Linked DNA regions of Homo sapiens: region 2 is linked to region 1. The links are contacts of gene promoters, found by promoter capture Hi-C in human tissues and cell types (Jung and others, 2019). All regions are on one chromosome and are shown on one strand. The core of a region is centred on a gene start or on the middle of the fragment in contact, and the rest is flanking DNA. Distances in the headings are between cores, read along the strand shown. Region 1 holds the start of MARK1 (microtubule affinity regulating kinase 1). Region 2 has its middle 9.7 kb from the start of LINC02779.

What was found. Contacts are between HindIII fragments. The study calls those that stand out against the background at their distance.
Region 2: a fragment that was not itself captured here is called in contact with the fragment with the promoter of MARK1 in region 1 in 1 of the 25 tissues and cell types used here (aorta).

What each region holds. Positions count from the first base shown.
Region 1 is chr1:220,523,412-220,531,284 of GRCh38, forward strand. MARK1 (microtubule affinity regulating kinase 1) reads left to right here and starts at 4,725. Exons shown (of 18, transcript NM_018650.5): 1 at 4,725-5,462. The coding sequence starts at 5,412. RefSeq lists a silencer at 4,789-5,088. The HindIII fragment of the contact is 13,581 bases long and covers 481-7,873 here.
Region 2 is chr1:220,473,946-220,481,818 of GRCh38, forward strand. No RefSeq gene overlaps it. Among named protein-coding and RNA genes, the nearest start is that of LINC02779, 9.7 kb to the right of the region's middle. The HindIII fragment of the contact is 5,947 bases long and covers 279-6,225 here.

The DNA of each region.
Region 1 (7,873 bases), core at 3,475-5,974:
GAATGTGAAAGTTCAGGAGAACATACAAGTCAATAAAAGTCATTTAGGAAATTGGGCATCTACTAATTGCTAAGCACTGTGCTAGGTTCTAGGCAAAAATAAATAAGACATATTCCCTTCCTTTTCCTAGTGCACAGGTGGATAGGGGACCAGCCAGGTACACAGTGCAAGGAGAGCAACAGTAGAGGTATGTCCAAGGTACAGAGGTAGTGCACAGGGAGTGATTAATTAACTGTGGGTGTGGGGAGAAACAGTGGTGTCAGGATAGGTTTCTAAAGGAAGGTTTTTAAAGACCAACTCTGAGGCCATCAGGCAGAAAAGAGGAGAGGACATTCCAGGAAGACAGAACAGATGACACAAATGCACGGAGGAGTCAAGCAATATGGTGTGTTCGGGGAATTCCAAGAAAACGAACATCGCTGAACCTACAGTGCTTGTGGGAAACAGAAGAGTAAACAACTCTTGGAGGTTATGTTTGTGAGGTGTGGAGTGGCATAACCAAAAAAAGCATTGAGCTGACCCTTGCTGGGTCTGACAGTTTATGTATATGCTGATGGCTATGAAGACAAGTATAAGTTAAATTATCACAAGGACTTTTCAGTCCTTCTATGACAATATATACAATGTAAAAGGCAACAGCTTTAAGCAGTTTTAAAAATACGATATATCGTTTCTTTTGAGGATCTTGTCCATTTCAGTGATTCTATATTTTAAGTAGTGAATGTTGACACAATAAAAATTCACCTTGCCAGACAGGCAGGCAATCAGGACCCAGTTTATTTGTGACAAGGACTGATTATTCTTTCCTGATGGACATTAACCTTGTTTCTCTTTAGCTGAGACTGCTCTTTGTTACCTTACCGAACTGTCTATCCTGTAGTTTTCCTGTGTGGCTAAATGAAAGATTGTAAATAGCCTTGTAGTACCTAAAACAAAGTATGCAAATAATTATTGACTGGCCAAGTCTATCAGACATTGGATACATCTAAAGCACATGATATAAAGACATGTGCAGTTTTAAGAGTTTACTATTAATCTGCTGAATCTGTCACATTTGATAAATTCTTTGTTTACAAATGACTGCAATCTGTTAATGCTCATTTGTATGAATTCAACATGTTTTCCACTTTGCTCTTTAAAAAGAATGCGTAAGACTGACTGCCGCTAACTATTAGGTGAAGAATATTCCCCTAGAACAGCACAGCATGGCATGTGGTAGAATGGTGCCCAACAAGCATTTATTGGGTGCCACTCTACCACAGAATGAATTATTAATAGCTTATAATCAAGGCCTTTGATTCTTAAGCAACTAAGCCTTTTTATTCTCAGCTTTGACCATATGGAGAAGTACTGTCCAACAGAGAGATAATGTAATGTAAACCACATATGTAAGTTTATATTTTTTAGGATCTGCATTTGAAAAAGTAAAAAAGAAACAGTTGAAAATGATTTAATAATATATTTTATTTAACCTAATATATTAAAATATTGGCATTTCAATATGAAATGGTTATAATATTTATAAAGAGACATCTTACTCTCTTTTTTTTCCTACTATTTGAAAATGTGGTGTGCATTTTATATTTATAGCACATCCCAATTCAGGTAATACATTTCCATGAGAAATACTTAATCGGTATATAGATTTCAGAAAATTTACAGTTGAAAAAGTAGATTCATATACTTAACATACTTTCAAACATAACACAATTTTTTCAGTCACTGAATCAAATCGGTTTTTAAGTGTAAATTATTTGAAATTGAGTCAAATTAAAAATTCAAGCAACATGTCAAGAGCTCAGTAGTCACATGTAACTGGTACTGGACCCGGTAGTTCTAAAAAATTCTACTCCATAGGGCTGACGGTAGGCAATGCTCTTTTCCCACTTTTCACTGTAGGTTTAGCACCTTTTAGATCTTTATTTCCCTTTTGTTTTGTCAGTACTTCAATTTTCTTCCAAAACTTTCATTACCCTAACACATTAAGTTAGGAACCTGTGAATTGAACATGCCACATTTGGTTAATAACCCAAAAAAAAATTACTCAAAGCCTTAAAATATTCCCTTTGTCATTTCTCCATAGTCACAGACACAGAAGCTATATATAGTAACACAAAAAAATTTTGCTCATGAGCATTTTCATTTCTAAGGACTAGGGTTAAACAGTATTGACTCCATCACAATAATGCCTCATGTCATTTTTTTTTCCTCTCCCATGTTTAAGGATCTACTAATGCCATTTTAAGGGGAGAAGAGCTCATATAGGGACAGACAGTATTTCCTTTTGAAAAACATAGTGACTTTTTTTTTAACCTGGGCAAAGTGCATTTTCACTTAGTTTTCACTACATACCAAGCTTAAAATTGTTAGGTATTAATAAGGATTATTTGAATGGCATTTTCTTTTGGATAGAATTGTTCTATCCAAAAAAACAATTTGGCTAGCTAGAATTATGGATTCGAGCTACCTAGTAATGACTCTCTTTGAATGTAGTTTCACTGTTAGAAGTGTTCTTGGGGATTGACTTAAACAATAAATATCCCTTCCTATTATTATGTGATATTCCGTAAATTTCAATATGTGAAATAGTGAGCATTGTGTAGCAAATATAGCTAAGGGATTTGTCCATGGCTTTTAACAGACACTTTAAAATCTGTGGAAGCCACTGTGCCAGAATCTGGGGCTCTCCTTTAAGCTCTGTCTCGAATTAGCCATTATATCTTATGGGGTGAACCTATGGTTTTTGTGACTGGTGCAAGATTGAACAGCACCACATATTTCAGTTATCTTCTTCTGTATCTTATTAACCTGGTGCATCTGTGATCTTGAACAAGTTAACTTAGTGGAATTTTGTAAAATGGAAATAAATATGCCTGTCAGGGTCACCACGATTATAAAGATAGAAAAATATGTGAGTATACTTTAAAGAGCAAAATACATACTACCAGCTGAAGGAATGATTCATATTCCAATGGGGCTGAACGCCTTTTCACAGCTACTTGTTTATTGCTAGGTTAACTCAGGTACTATTGCAACACTAGGTACCCTTGTGTGGCTGCAGCAGTCAGTGATGCCGCTGACACTGTGATGGCAGCCCCTACAGGCAGCCGTCGCAATAGTTAACCAGAAAATAACCAGAAAAATACAGGATTATGCCCTTGCAACTTCAATGTATCTTGGTGATTCAGGATTTTCTGCAGAGGGCACGTAAATGCTTGACATTCTCAGTAACACATCATAGTTCAGGAGGCAGCATTGCAGTTCCGCTGCCTAAATTCTGTTTGAGAAGTGGTGATGACCACCAAAGGGATCTTGTTTTTTTTTTTTTTTTCATTTGCTTTGTGAAATTGGTAAGTGGTTACAAGAGAAAATGCTAAAGAAATAAGTACACAGATGGTGTTCTAGAAGTGAATATAGACTGGGTGAGAATTGCTTCTTTCCTCAAAGGATTTTTGTGTTTGCTATTTTCAGGTCTTTTGGACCCATGCTTCAAGGGTCAAGTGTTAACTTTTCAGAAACAACCTTTAATGAGTCAGGATAAAAACCATCTGGTTCAGGGATTCTTCTTTCAAATGGAGGAAATTCAGAAGAGACGAGAAATTTCCCACCATTATAAGAATTCCACTGGAGGCATACTGAAGCAGCTCAGAAAATCAATGTATCCGCTCCTATCTTTCATTCCTTTTGTCTTCCTGCCCATCCATGAAAGGAAGTGAAAAAGAAATGTTGCAAAGAAGAATAGAGAGACGATAAGGTTTTCGTTCTACAGGCTGAATGTGCAAAATGTAAGCTCTCAAATGAGATTAAAAAAAAATGCAGCCTTGCTTATAAAAGGCGAATGGGTCCTGGACAATGCACTACAGACGCGGGTGCCTACAGGATGTCTTGAGGCAGGTGGGTGGAAGTGTGAGGAAGCCACCTGGAAGAGGGAGGACAGGGCCCAAATCAGACACAGCTCTCCATCCTCCCTAAACAGGCTCGCCTAAGTGACACTTCCTTGTGTCCCAGGAAGTGACGATCAGCCAGTGTAGATGTTGTGACTCGCGGGTCTCACCCACTCCGAGGGTGCTGCAGGGCGCCCAGAGCGAGACGTCTTCCGCCGGCCCCATTCCCGAAGAGGCCGCGCCGTCGGGGGCTGAGACCCACTTGTACTGAGTCTCCAGCCGCCTCCCTAGGCTGCTGGCGCTTCTAGGGGCTTCTGTGCTTTTTGCCAAACTCTGAGGGTGACCCTGAACCTAACGGCTCCCTAGAGAAGGAGACTGACAGAGGGCTCAGGCGAGGATAGGGATTGAGAAAGCGTGGAAACGGGGGAGGAGGAGTAGAATTTAAGAATGGTAAAAGTCCCGAGGTAGGAGAAAAGGAGGGGTAGGATCCAGGGTAGGATTGAATCCAATTCTTCTCCAATGAAACGGACAAACAAACAAACAAACAAACAAAAACAGAAAGAAAGAAAAAGAAAAAAAAAAGCCACTGATTCACATCAGCTCTCTCTCACCCTCAACCCGGCAAAAACCAAACACGAATAAAAATAAAACCACCAGAGGCTCTTAGACGACCGTAAACTCTGCGGGTGGGGCACGAAACAAAAATAAACACAGGGACAGGCGGGCAAGAGAGCGCGGGAGGAGGAGGAGGAGAAAAAGGAGGAGGAGGAGGAGGAGGAGGCGGCCCCGCATCCCTAATGAGGGAATGAATGGAGAGGCCCCCTCGGCTGGCGCCCGCCCACCCGGCGGCGGCCGCCAAGTGCCTCTGGGCGCTGCGTGCCGCGCCCGCTGCTCCGCGCGCAGCCGGCTCGGGCCGCTCCTCCTGACTGAGGCGCGGCGGCGGCGGTGGCTGTGACCGCGCGGACCGAGCCGAGACATTCGCGCCGGGGGATCGGGCGCCGCCGCCGCTGGGCCCCGGGCGCGTGGATGCGGCTGGGTCGGGCGGCGCCGTACACCTGAGGCGGAGAACGGGGCGCGGCGCGGGTGACGCTGTCAGGGCCGCGGTTCCTGACGCCCAGGCGCTCGCCAGGACGAGCCAGGCAGTGATTTGAGGCACCGGCTTCACCTTCACCCATGGTCCGGAGAGCCTAGCGGGGCTCGCCACCGCCTCCCGGCTCCCCTTCCACGCCTCATCCTGCCAGCCTCGCCGCCCCGCCAGCGCCGGGCAACCGCCTCGCCCGAAGCCCTCCCTCGTTACTGTCCGCATACCCCGGCGGCGCCGCCGCGGGAAGCGGCTCCCCCTCCTCTTCCTCCGCGTCCTCTTCCCTCTTTCCCCCGCCGGGGCCGCTTGTTGCACCGCCCCGCGGCCTGCGGGAGCCGCTCGCCCCGGCCTTGTGCTCGCGTCCGCACCCCTTTCCTGTCGCCCCCCGGGGCCCGCACCACAGCCCGGCCGGCGAGACCCCGGCCAGACCCCGCTGCCCGCACAAAATGTCGGCCCGGACGCCATTGCCGACGGTGAACGAGCGGGACACGGAAAATGTGAGTAACCGGAGCCTCCCTCGGGAGCAGTGGGGGCGAGACCCTCCTCTGATCCCCACTTCACCCGCGCTTGGGCCGTCCCCCGTGCCTCGGCGCGGCCACCCGCGGCAGGGTCTCCACCTGGAGCCCGGCGTGACCCTCACCCACTGCTCAGCCCTATTCTTCATTCCAACCCCATTTCGCTTGTTTCCCCTCAAGGGTGAGGGTAGGGAACCGTAAGTGGCGCCCTCTCGCTCGGAGGTGGTCCTCCAGGGGCGGATGGGGTGATGGAGGGCAGAGAAGCAGAATGGGATGGCAGAGTGGGCAGTCAGGATTGCTTTATTTCTACCTCTGCATTCTGTGCCCCCACCCGAATGAATGCTTGCTTTACAATAGCAGACGAGCCGGCTACCTCTCACACTCTTGCTTTTCTGGATCTTTCAATCCTTTGCACTCTCCCCTCCTCCCCCCGCATTGCCCCATGACTTTGCTTTTTGTAACATTGTGTCCACATTTTGGGTCATGGGCACCAAAGCGAGAAGGATGGGAATGGAAGTGGAGATGTGTGCGTGTTTGTGTATGAGTTTATACTGCTGTGACACTCTTAGTAGGGATGAGTAGAAGAATTTCACGAACAGCATCTATGGCCCTGGGGTTACAGCAAAATGTTGAAAAGCCACATGAAGCCAAGGGCTTTTTAATCTCTTCCTTAAGTCAGTGATAATGATGCAGGGCAGGTTTTACTTTAAATATCTCTCCTCCTTGGAGTGTCACAAGGTGCACATCTTTAAAGGAGGGATTTTCTGTGTCTTTGATCAGATTGCCCTCTGGAGCTGTTATCAAGATGCAGATGTGCCGGGCTTTTAAACTCTTGAAAAACGAAAAGAACAAGATCCCTTGTATTTCCACCTTCTGAAAAGTACAGTTGTGTGTGTGTGTGCAAGTTCCTTTGTGGGAAGGTTTTCTTGTTTTTGTTTTTGTTTAAAACACTCAAGACCTGTAAATAGGGCTTGGCTGATTTTCCGACTGATTTTAAGGACCTAGAGGGGTACTAAGTTTTGGTCAGCTGTCCAGAGCTCTCTGTCTAGTTATCTCATCAGCCGTCCAGCTTTTGATATACCACTGACTTCATGGGGTTGGTAAAATAAAATAACGAAGCGCTTTGGTGTTCTTAGACAAAAGGCATGAGAGAAAGGATACAAGCTCACTTCTGAGTTGTTGGAGGGGTATAAACAGATGATTTCATCTTAGGAGGGAAGCACAGAAATTTAATATAACTATACAAAGAGAGAAGAAATTCTACTAAGAGACCATTGTTAGAGGACCTGTGAAGATGTTTCAGAGTATGCTTTTGTCTTCCCTAGCGCCGTGCATTTAAATGGGAAAGATAGTGTAAGGCTGCTGCTATCATAAATTAGAACTTCATTTGCATCATAACTATTTTAGAAAATATAATTGATACATAATTTTGATTGAGAGATTGAACAAGTTCAGAGAAAAAGATGGATATTTTGGTTTGAGTTGGTTTTAAAGCCGAGTTGGCACAGAATTTTTCTAACAGGAACATTAAAAAAATGCCTGTCATTCAAGAGTGTGAATGAAAAGTATGACAGATGATAACCTTTGTTTTTATTAGCAAATTACTGTATGTGTTAACCCAGGAGGAGTGGAAAAATACATTGTTTTTATTTTCTTTTAGATTTTGAATAGTATAGCTTTTCTCATACTTGTATGAATAAGGTACTTCATAAAGACATGAGATATAATTATAGAAATATGCATTAAGGAATAGCACAAAATGCAGCTTCTCATGTAAGAACACACAAAAAAGGATTTTAAAGCTAAGCAATAATAGTATGATAAATTTTGTTGTGAGTACCTTCTGAAAATGATTATGCTGTATAAACTGATTTGCTGTTTCTGAACATGTTATTTCAAAGTCACTTTTATGGTCTTGTGCCTTATTGTGTTGTACATAATGATATCTCCATTTAGCTTACTTTACCCACACCTTATTTTCTCCTAATTGCTGTGGAAAATATCTATTATATGACACCTGTCAATTAATAAGTATGCACTCAGCATGTTCATTTTTTAGGTAAAGGGTTGGGAAGGGGATATAGAAGTAGTGTTTAAGATAAAGTCTCTCCCTGCAAGGAGCTTACAGAAGAGATAATAATCCCAAACAAGTAATGTATGGTAGAAGACATTGTGTAAATAGGGCTAAATTGGTTTATAGGTGTTATAGGTGTTTATCAAAGAGGCCACCACTGATGGCTACGAAATCACCATTGGTGACTCTCTTTATTCTCTAGTTGGTAGTAAATGGCATCATCCATTTTTACTTCTCATCGATGAAATAAAGTAACAAGCCTGCTTGTTAGCTAATATATTAATGCCAGTATGGCAGCCAAAATGTATTTTTGTTTATA
Region 2 (7,873 bases), core at 2,002-4,501, 51 kb before region 1:
TTTCAGCTGGGTTAAAACCCTGTGGTTCTCATTGTGATCTCAGCCTACCTTGGGTCTCACTGATCCTGTAAGTTCTAATTCTCCATCATGGTCCTCACTAAAAAACCTATCCTGTGGCTTCTGTGGTACAGTCATTATCCTCTGGCTACAGAAGCCTTTGTAAATCTTCTTGCTCTCACTTCAGTTGTCTTTAATCTAGTGGTTAAAGGTATAGACTTCATAACTAGATTGACTTTGTGTTAAAATCCTCATTTCATATTACAGCAGTGTGGTCTTGGACAAGATAGTTAACCTCTCTGTACCTCAGTCTCCACAATTTAAAAAGTGCAAAAAGGACCTATGTCATAGGGCTGTTGAAAAGATGCAGTAAGACCATTTTTGTAAAGTACTTAGACTTCTTCCTGGCACATAGCACTCAATAAATGTTAATTATTATTGTTTATTGAGGTTCATGAAGGCCCAATAAATAGCACTCCATTTCCTCACCTGAGTACTCGTGTAATTAAGAAATATATAGAGAGTAAAGTAGATGGAGATCAAAATTCACCTTTTTTTTACACTGATAATGCATTATTGTAGAATGTGATTTATATCTCTGGGCAAGTGTCTTCTTTACACCAAACCCCAGAAGTAGGTGGACTTACCCAATCACAGGTGACAATGAACTGGGGCAAATCTGTCCCTGTGAAATTTACAGTAAGGCAACCTGAGCAGATGCTTCTGTGATCAGATTTCTTCTTTCTCTCATCTGTTCCAGCGATAATTGCCTATACAGCTAATAATTTGGCAATTGATCATGTCCAGCCTAATACCACCACATTAGAGGTGATCAGATGCTGTCAGAGGTCTGCTTATATCCCATTAGCACATTTGGCCATTTCCAGGCACAGTGATCACACTGATGTTGTGTCCGGAATTGGTGGGTTCTTGGTCTCACTGACTTCCAGAATGAAGCCGAGAACCCTCGTGGTGAGTGGTACAGCTCACAGCACGCCTAAGGTGGCACGTCTGTAGTTTGTCCCTTCTGATGTTCAGATGTGTTCGGAGTTTCTTTGTTTTGGTTGATTCGTGGTCTCACTGGCTCAGGAATGAAGCTGCAAACCTTCCCAGTGTGTGTTACAGCTCGTAAGGCGGCGTGTCTGTAGTTGTTCATTCCTCCCAATAGGCTCGTGGGATCGCTGGTTCAGGAGTGAAGCTACAGACCTTCGCGGTGTTACACCTCATGCAAGCAGCGTGGCCCCAAAAAATGAACAATAGCAACATTTATTGCAAAGAGCAAAAACACAAAGCTTCCACACAGTAGAAAGGAAACCAGAGGGTTGCCTCTGCTCGCTGGGGCAGCCTGCTTTTATTCTCTTATCTGGCCCCACCCACATCCTGCTGATTGGTAGAGCCCAGTGGCCTGTTTTGACAGGGCGCTGATTGGTGCGTTTACAATCCCTGAGCTAGACATAAAGGTTCTCCAAGACCTCACCAGAGTAGCTAGATACAGAGTGTCGATTGGTGCATTCAGAAACCCTGAGCTAGACACAGGGTGCTGATTGGTGTGTTTACAAACCTTGAGCTAGATACAGAGTGCCGATTGGTGTATTTACAATCCCTGAGCTATACATAAAGACTCTCCACATCCCCACCAGACTCAGGAGCCCAGCTGGCTTCACCCAGTGGATCCAGCACGGGGGCTGCAGGTGGAGCTGCCTGCCAGTCCCGGTGCTGTGCGCTCGCACTCCTCAGCCGTTGGGGGGTCGATGGGACTGGGCGCCGTGGAGCAGGGGGCGGCACTCGTCGGGGAGGCTCGGGCGGCACAGGAGCCCACGGAGAGGGTGGGAGGCTCAGGCATGGCGGGCTGCAGGTCCCGAGCCCTGCCCCGTGGGAAGGCAGCTAAGGCCTGGCGAGAAATCGAGCACAGCGGCGGTGGGCCGGCACTGCTGGGGGACCCAGTACACCCCCCGCAGCCGCTGGCCCGGGTGCTAAGCCCCTCACTGCCCGGGGCCGGCAGGGCCGGCCGGCTGCTCCGAGTGCGGGGCCGGCCGGCTGCTCCGAGTGCAGGGCCCGCCAAGCCCACGCCCACCCAGAACTCCAGCTGGCCCGCAAGCTCCGCACGCAGCCCCGGTTCCTGCTCGCGCCTCTCCCTCCACACCTCCCCGCAAGCTGAGGGAGTGAGCTCCGGCCTTGGCCAGCCCAGAAAGGGGCTCCCACAATGCAGCGGTGGGCTGAAGGGCTCTTCAAGTGCCGCCAAAGTGGGAGCTCAGGCAGAGGAGGCGCCAAGAGCAAGTGAGGGCTGTGAGGACTGCCAGCACGCTGTCACCTCTCAGTGTGAGCTTCCACTCCTTAGAGCAAGCACCCACATCTCTCTGTTGTAAGGCTACTTTTAAGCAGTGATGACCCACTTTTCCTGCTAGTGCAGACAGCAGGAAGTGCCTGGAAATTTATTTAATATAAGTGGCCATCACTCTCCCGACCCAGGGTGCCTCATCTTAAGGGCTGATGGACAGGAGGAATAATTACCCCAGCTCCCTGGCCCCGGACCAGAACATGGTCTCCAAAGACTGAAAGACTGAGCGGAAGTTACCCTTTATGGGATTTCCCTTCCTGGTCCTACTTTCCTACTCCCCAAATCACTTTCACACAAATCCTCATCTGGGGATCCCAGCTTAAGTCGGGAAACAAATCTATTATTGTCTAGTGGCATTTATATATATTTTTTACTTTCAATTGTTTTCCTGTGTTGACTCGTTGTAAAGGTTTCTTTGGGGGATATGAGCAGACCTCCAACAGAGTGTAGTACTTGTGTTTCTTCATACTCTCCATCGTATAGTTGTACAAACAGTAGGAACTAGGCTTTTTAAAAAAAAAATGATTTCTCAATTCATTTTCTTTTTAAATTGACATCAGAGAAACTCAAACTATGTGAATAAACAAGGCGTTTGGGGAATATGCATACATATCATGCAAAGGGTGCTATACACAGCCATAGAATTTTAAGGTTATTTTCTGAATACAAAAATATGTTACATAAATTTATAAAGATCGCAGAGAATATTTAGGTTGATATGAATATTGTATAAAATTATTATTTGGGATTGAATAGCTTTATACATGCTCTTAGAGACATTTTAATGTTGAAGTTGCTTTTAAGAATTATTAACTAGTGAATAATTAAAATGTTGTCAGAATGGATTCAAGGCCAATTAGTTTGGTTGCAGATAAAAAGTCCTAAGAAATCCATGACTGCCATCAGTGGCAATTAATATAGTTTTATTTGCATGCTAAAACAATCCAGGGTAGGTCCCAAAATGTACATTTTCTGCAATACAGTAATTTAGCTTTCATGCCCAGACTGGAAGTGTGATACTTAGAATAAATGAATCCAATAATGGAGGTGCAGGAAAATAATAGCATAGTGATAATATTTGACATTTGTATATGCTTTATTACTTTTCAGATGAATTTTGCAGCTCTTTTACCCTGATAGCTAGACCAAAAACCTATTTATAAGTTTGTACAGGCTACAGTTTTCTTCGCTTTGAATACCGACTAATGAATTTCAAACCACCAATCTGACCCTTTTATATCAAATTAACTGGTTATTTGGTCAAACCAATTCACTTGACCTGCTATCCTGGTGACAAGTAGATATTTCCTGAATCAGTGTCCATCAGTCTGTGCCTTGCTTCAGCCATGCCCAGCCCCTGTGTCTCTGACAGCCAGGTCCAGAAGATGTATGTGTGCTGGTACAAGTCTCATCCTACTTGTTCTATGAAGCACTGAGGGCAGGGCCTGAAACTGTGTTGGGGAATTCTCTAGAACCTGTGATTAGGTTTCCATCTTTCTCAATGCCTACTCTTTGTGTCCTTTTGCTTCTAGATCTGCTATACTCCTACTTCTCTGGATGATAATCCCAGCTTGAGTCCTTCCATGCTCCTCTCAGTTCCATTCACCAGTGATAGTGATGAACTCCATTCATGCCTTATAGCGGGAGCACACCATTCTGCATAATATTCAGCTATTTTCTAGGGTTAAATTTACCCCCTGAAAATATATTTGATTGAATACATATAGAGAATTTTCCTACTGATAATATTATTATTAGTGGTAATAATCATAATTTTCATTATTACTCTCAGGCTCAGTCCTTGTACTTAAAAAAAAAAAAAGATAGCCAAATAGTATACAGTGGGACATTTAATAAAACCTGGAGTTGTCTTTTGATTATTAAATTAATCCAAAGCTCGCAAGGGATTTTTAAGTTTCTTTAGCCACCAAGCAAGTTGTGAGTAAATATATAGCAAAAAAAATGGAAATGAATCTAGAAAGTTTTATATTATTTTGGCCAGGTGTGGTGGCTCACACCTGTAATCCCAGCACTTTGGGAGGCTGAGGCAGGTGGACCACGAGGTCAGGAGTTTGAGACCAGCCCGGCCAACATGGCGAAACCCCATCTCTACTAAAAATACAAAAAATTAGCCAGGTGTGGTGGCGGGCACCTGTAGTCCCAGCTACTCAGGAGGCTGAGGCGGGAGAATTGCTTGAACCCAGGAGGCAGAGGTTGCAGTGAGCCAAGATCACACCATTGCACTCCAGCCTGGGTGACAGGGCGAGAGACTCGGTCTCAAAAAAAAAAAAAAAAGAAAGAAAGAAAGAAAAAAGAAAGTTTTATATATATTTTAAAACCAGGCTTTCTCTTAGGAAATTGAAGATGCTAGTTGAGGATACTTTATAGACATCGCAGGCCTCCAAATATTTTGAACTGAAATACATTGATGCCCAAGGAAACATATTCATTTTGCTGAAATTAATAGGTTGTTTTAATTTTTAATTTATACGATAGCATGTACATAACCTTTTATTGTCTACTCAATTTTACTGCTGGACATTTACTCAATTAATGAATCTTTCAATAAGATACTGACTATCATAAACTCTTGGAAAGACTGTGGTGAGCTGAGGGAATAAAAATTTGTTTTCCTTTTTTCTGTGGAAGTAGTGGGGCTGCCAACTCTTCTTCCTGGCATATTTTAATCTTTTTTTTAATTTTTAATTTTAATGGGTACATAGTAGGTATCTATATTTATGGGGTGCCTGGGATATTTTGATACAGACCTACAATGTGTAATAATCACACCAAGAAATTTTCTCCTTTTTTTTTGGCAGGGGCGCTTCAAGGTCATTATTTGGAACTCAGGCTGTGACATTGAAAAAAGATAAATGGGGTTTCCATCACCTCAAGAATTCATCATTTCTTTGTGTTGCAAACATTCCAATTGTACTCCCTTGGTTATTCTAAAATGTCCAACAAATTATTGCTGGCTGTGGTCACTCTGTTGTGCTATCAAATACTAGATCTTACTCATTGTATCGAATTCTATTTTTGTACCCGTTAACTACCCCCATTTCCCATTTCCCCTCTCCACTACCCTTCCCAGCCTCTGGTAGCCATCATTCTACTATCTCCATGAGTTCCAGTGTTTTAATTTTCAGCTCCCACAAATGAGTGAGAACATGCAAAGTTTGTCTTTCTGTGCCTGATCTTTTTTTGGAGCTACAAGAAAGCATGTTGGCCAACTAGGTGTCTACACAGATTTCCATCTGGAAAGGGAAGCTCTTTCTCAGAGGCAAGTGAAGGTTTTGTTTCAGGCCAAAAGCTCAAGGTGAAGGTGCTCAGGAAATTTTTCTTCTTCTTCTTCTTTTTTTTTTTTTTTTTTTTTGGCAGGGGCACATCAAGGTCATTATTTGGGACTCAGGCTGTGACATTTAAAAAATATATATATTCCTTCAACAGCAATCTATTTCCTTCTTTGCCCAGAGGACACCTGTGCTGTTGCCCAAGTACATGTGAAAAGAACCAGTCAGCCTCACAATTTATACCTTGCCCCATTTGTAACAACTAGGAAGTCTCATCGGATTCATCTTTTGGTTTGTGTTCCATTTTAACAAATCACTCAGAAGGCTGCCAGAGATAATAACCTCTCATGAGGAAACAAATATTTCATCTCAGTGCTTTCTTCTCAAGCTGCAACTGGATCGTTGCAATTTGGTGTAATGTCGTTTCTTAACCTAGCCTCTGAAATTTACCCCATATATGAACAGAAAAGGATTCTTAACAGTTATTTTCATGTTGGCACAGAGTTCTGCTCAGTAGCACTTAGTTCTTTTGCTCCTTTTGAAGCATCATGACTGCCTGGTCTGCGCCTTGATGGATGTCAGCACTCTCAGGTCAGGTCTAGATGGGGCAATCAAACCACCCAAAGGAAATTCAGTATTCAGTCATCTGTGTGGATGACTCTGTACACAGTAACCTGAAGGGCTACGTGATAGTTTATTCCGATTTTTTTTGTTGAGATAGACAAAAAAGCTCTGTTAGTTATCTCATGATCTTTCAGACATGCCAGGAAGTTGTTTCTGCATGTCTTCAGCCACCATTGAAGAAAAGGAAATTTCAAATGCTATTAGAGCAAACGAGCTATGTCGGAACGTTTCCCCATTACTCCACTTGGATGCACAATCCTAAATAATAATAACTTCTTTCATATGGAATACTTACTCTGGTGCCAGACATGAATTAACCCAGTGCTTTCACATAAACTCAGTGAACCCTTACAATGCCCTATGAGGTAAATACTATTTTTTTTTTGAGACGGGTTCTCACTCTGTTGCCCAGGCTGGAGTGCAGTGGTGTGATCTCAGCTCACTGCAACCTCCGCCTCCCAGGTTCAAGTGATTCTCCTGCCTTAACCTCCTGAGTAGATGAGACTACAGGTGCATGCCACCATGCCCAGCTAATTTTTGTATTTTTGTTACAGATGGGGTTTCACTGTATTGGCCAGGCTGGTCTCGAACTCCTGACCTCATGATCTGCCTGCCTGGGCCTCCCAAAGTGCTGGGATTACAGGCGTGAGCTACTGCGCCTGGCCGGTAGGTACCATTTTTATCCCTACTTTTTAGATGAGGAAACCGAGACATATAGAAGTTAAGTAGTTTATCCAAAATGACACAACTGCTAAGTGACAGAGTCAGAATTTGAACCACTAGTGGTACCACTTGCTGGTAAACACTCATTACAACAGCCAAAAGTAAAGTGATCATCAAAACAATCGCCTAACATTTTTTGGATCTTTACATGCTCTGGTAAAGTAAAGTTACATGGTCCAGCAGAGGTGTGAGAAAAATTTAATGAATGTTACAAGACATGCTCTTAACTTTGTCTGCCTCAAGCAATAGGAGTGAGGATAAGTGACGCCTGGTGAAGATCCTGCAGAAGTCAGACTTTTCCTCTTAAAGCTATGGCTTCTCCTCTAGAATGAAAAGTTGCGATAACAGGAGTCCTAGAATGTGGGCCACAACTTCACATTCTGGATGCTGAGTCATTTGTCATTTCTATGCTGAGCAGTAGAGAAATACTAGGTGGCCCACTTTCTAGGACTCCTATTATCAGAACTATTCATTCTAGAGGAGAAGCCAGAGCTTTTAAGAGCGGAAGTCTGACTTCTGTAGGATCATCACATAGGTGTTACTTAATGCTCACTCCTATTGCTTGAAGCAGAGAAAGTTAAAAGCATGTGTTGTATAGGCACAGGCAAAGATTTCATGATGAAAACATCAAAAGTAATTGCAACAAAGCAAAAATTGACAAATGGAATCTAATTAAACTGAAGAGCTTCTGCATAGCAAAAGAAACTTATCAGAGCGAACAGACAACCTACAGAATGAGATAAAATGTTTGCAATCTATCCATCTGACAAAGGTCTAATATCCAGAATCTACAAGAAACTTAAACAAATTTACAAGAAAAAAACAAACAACCCTATTAAAAATTGGGCAAAGGACATGAGCAGACACTTATCAAAAGAAGACATATATATGGCCAACAAAC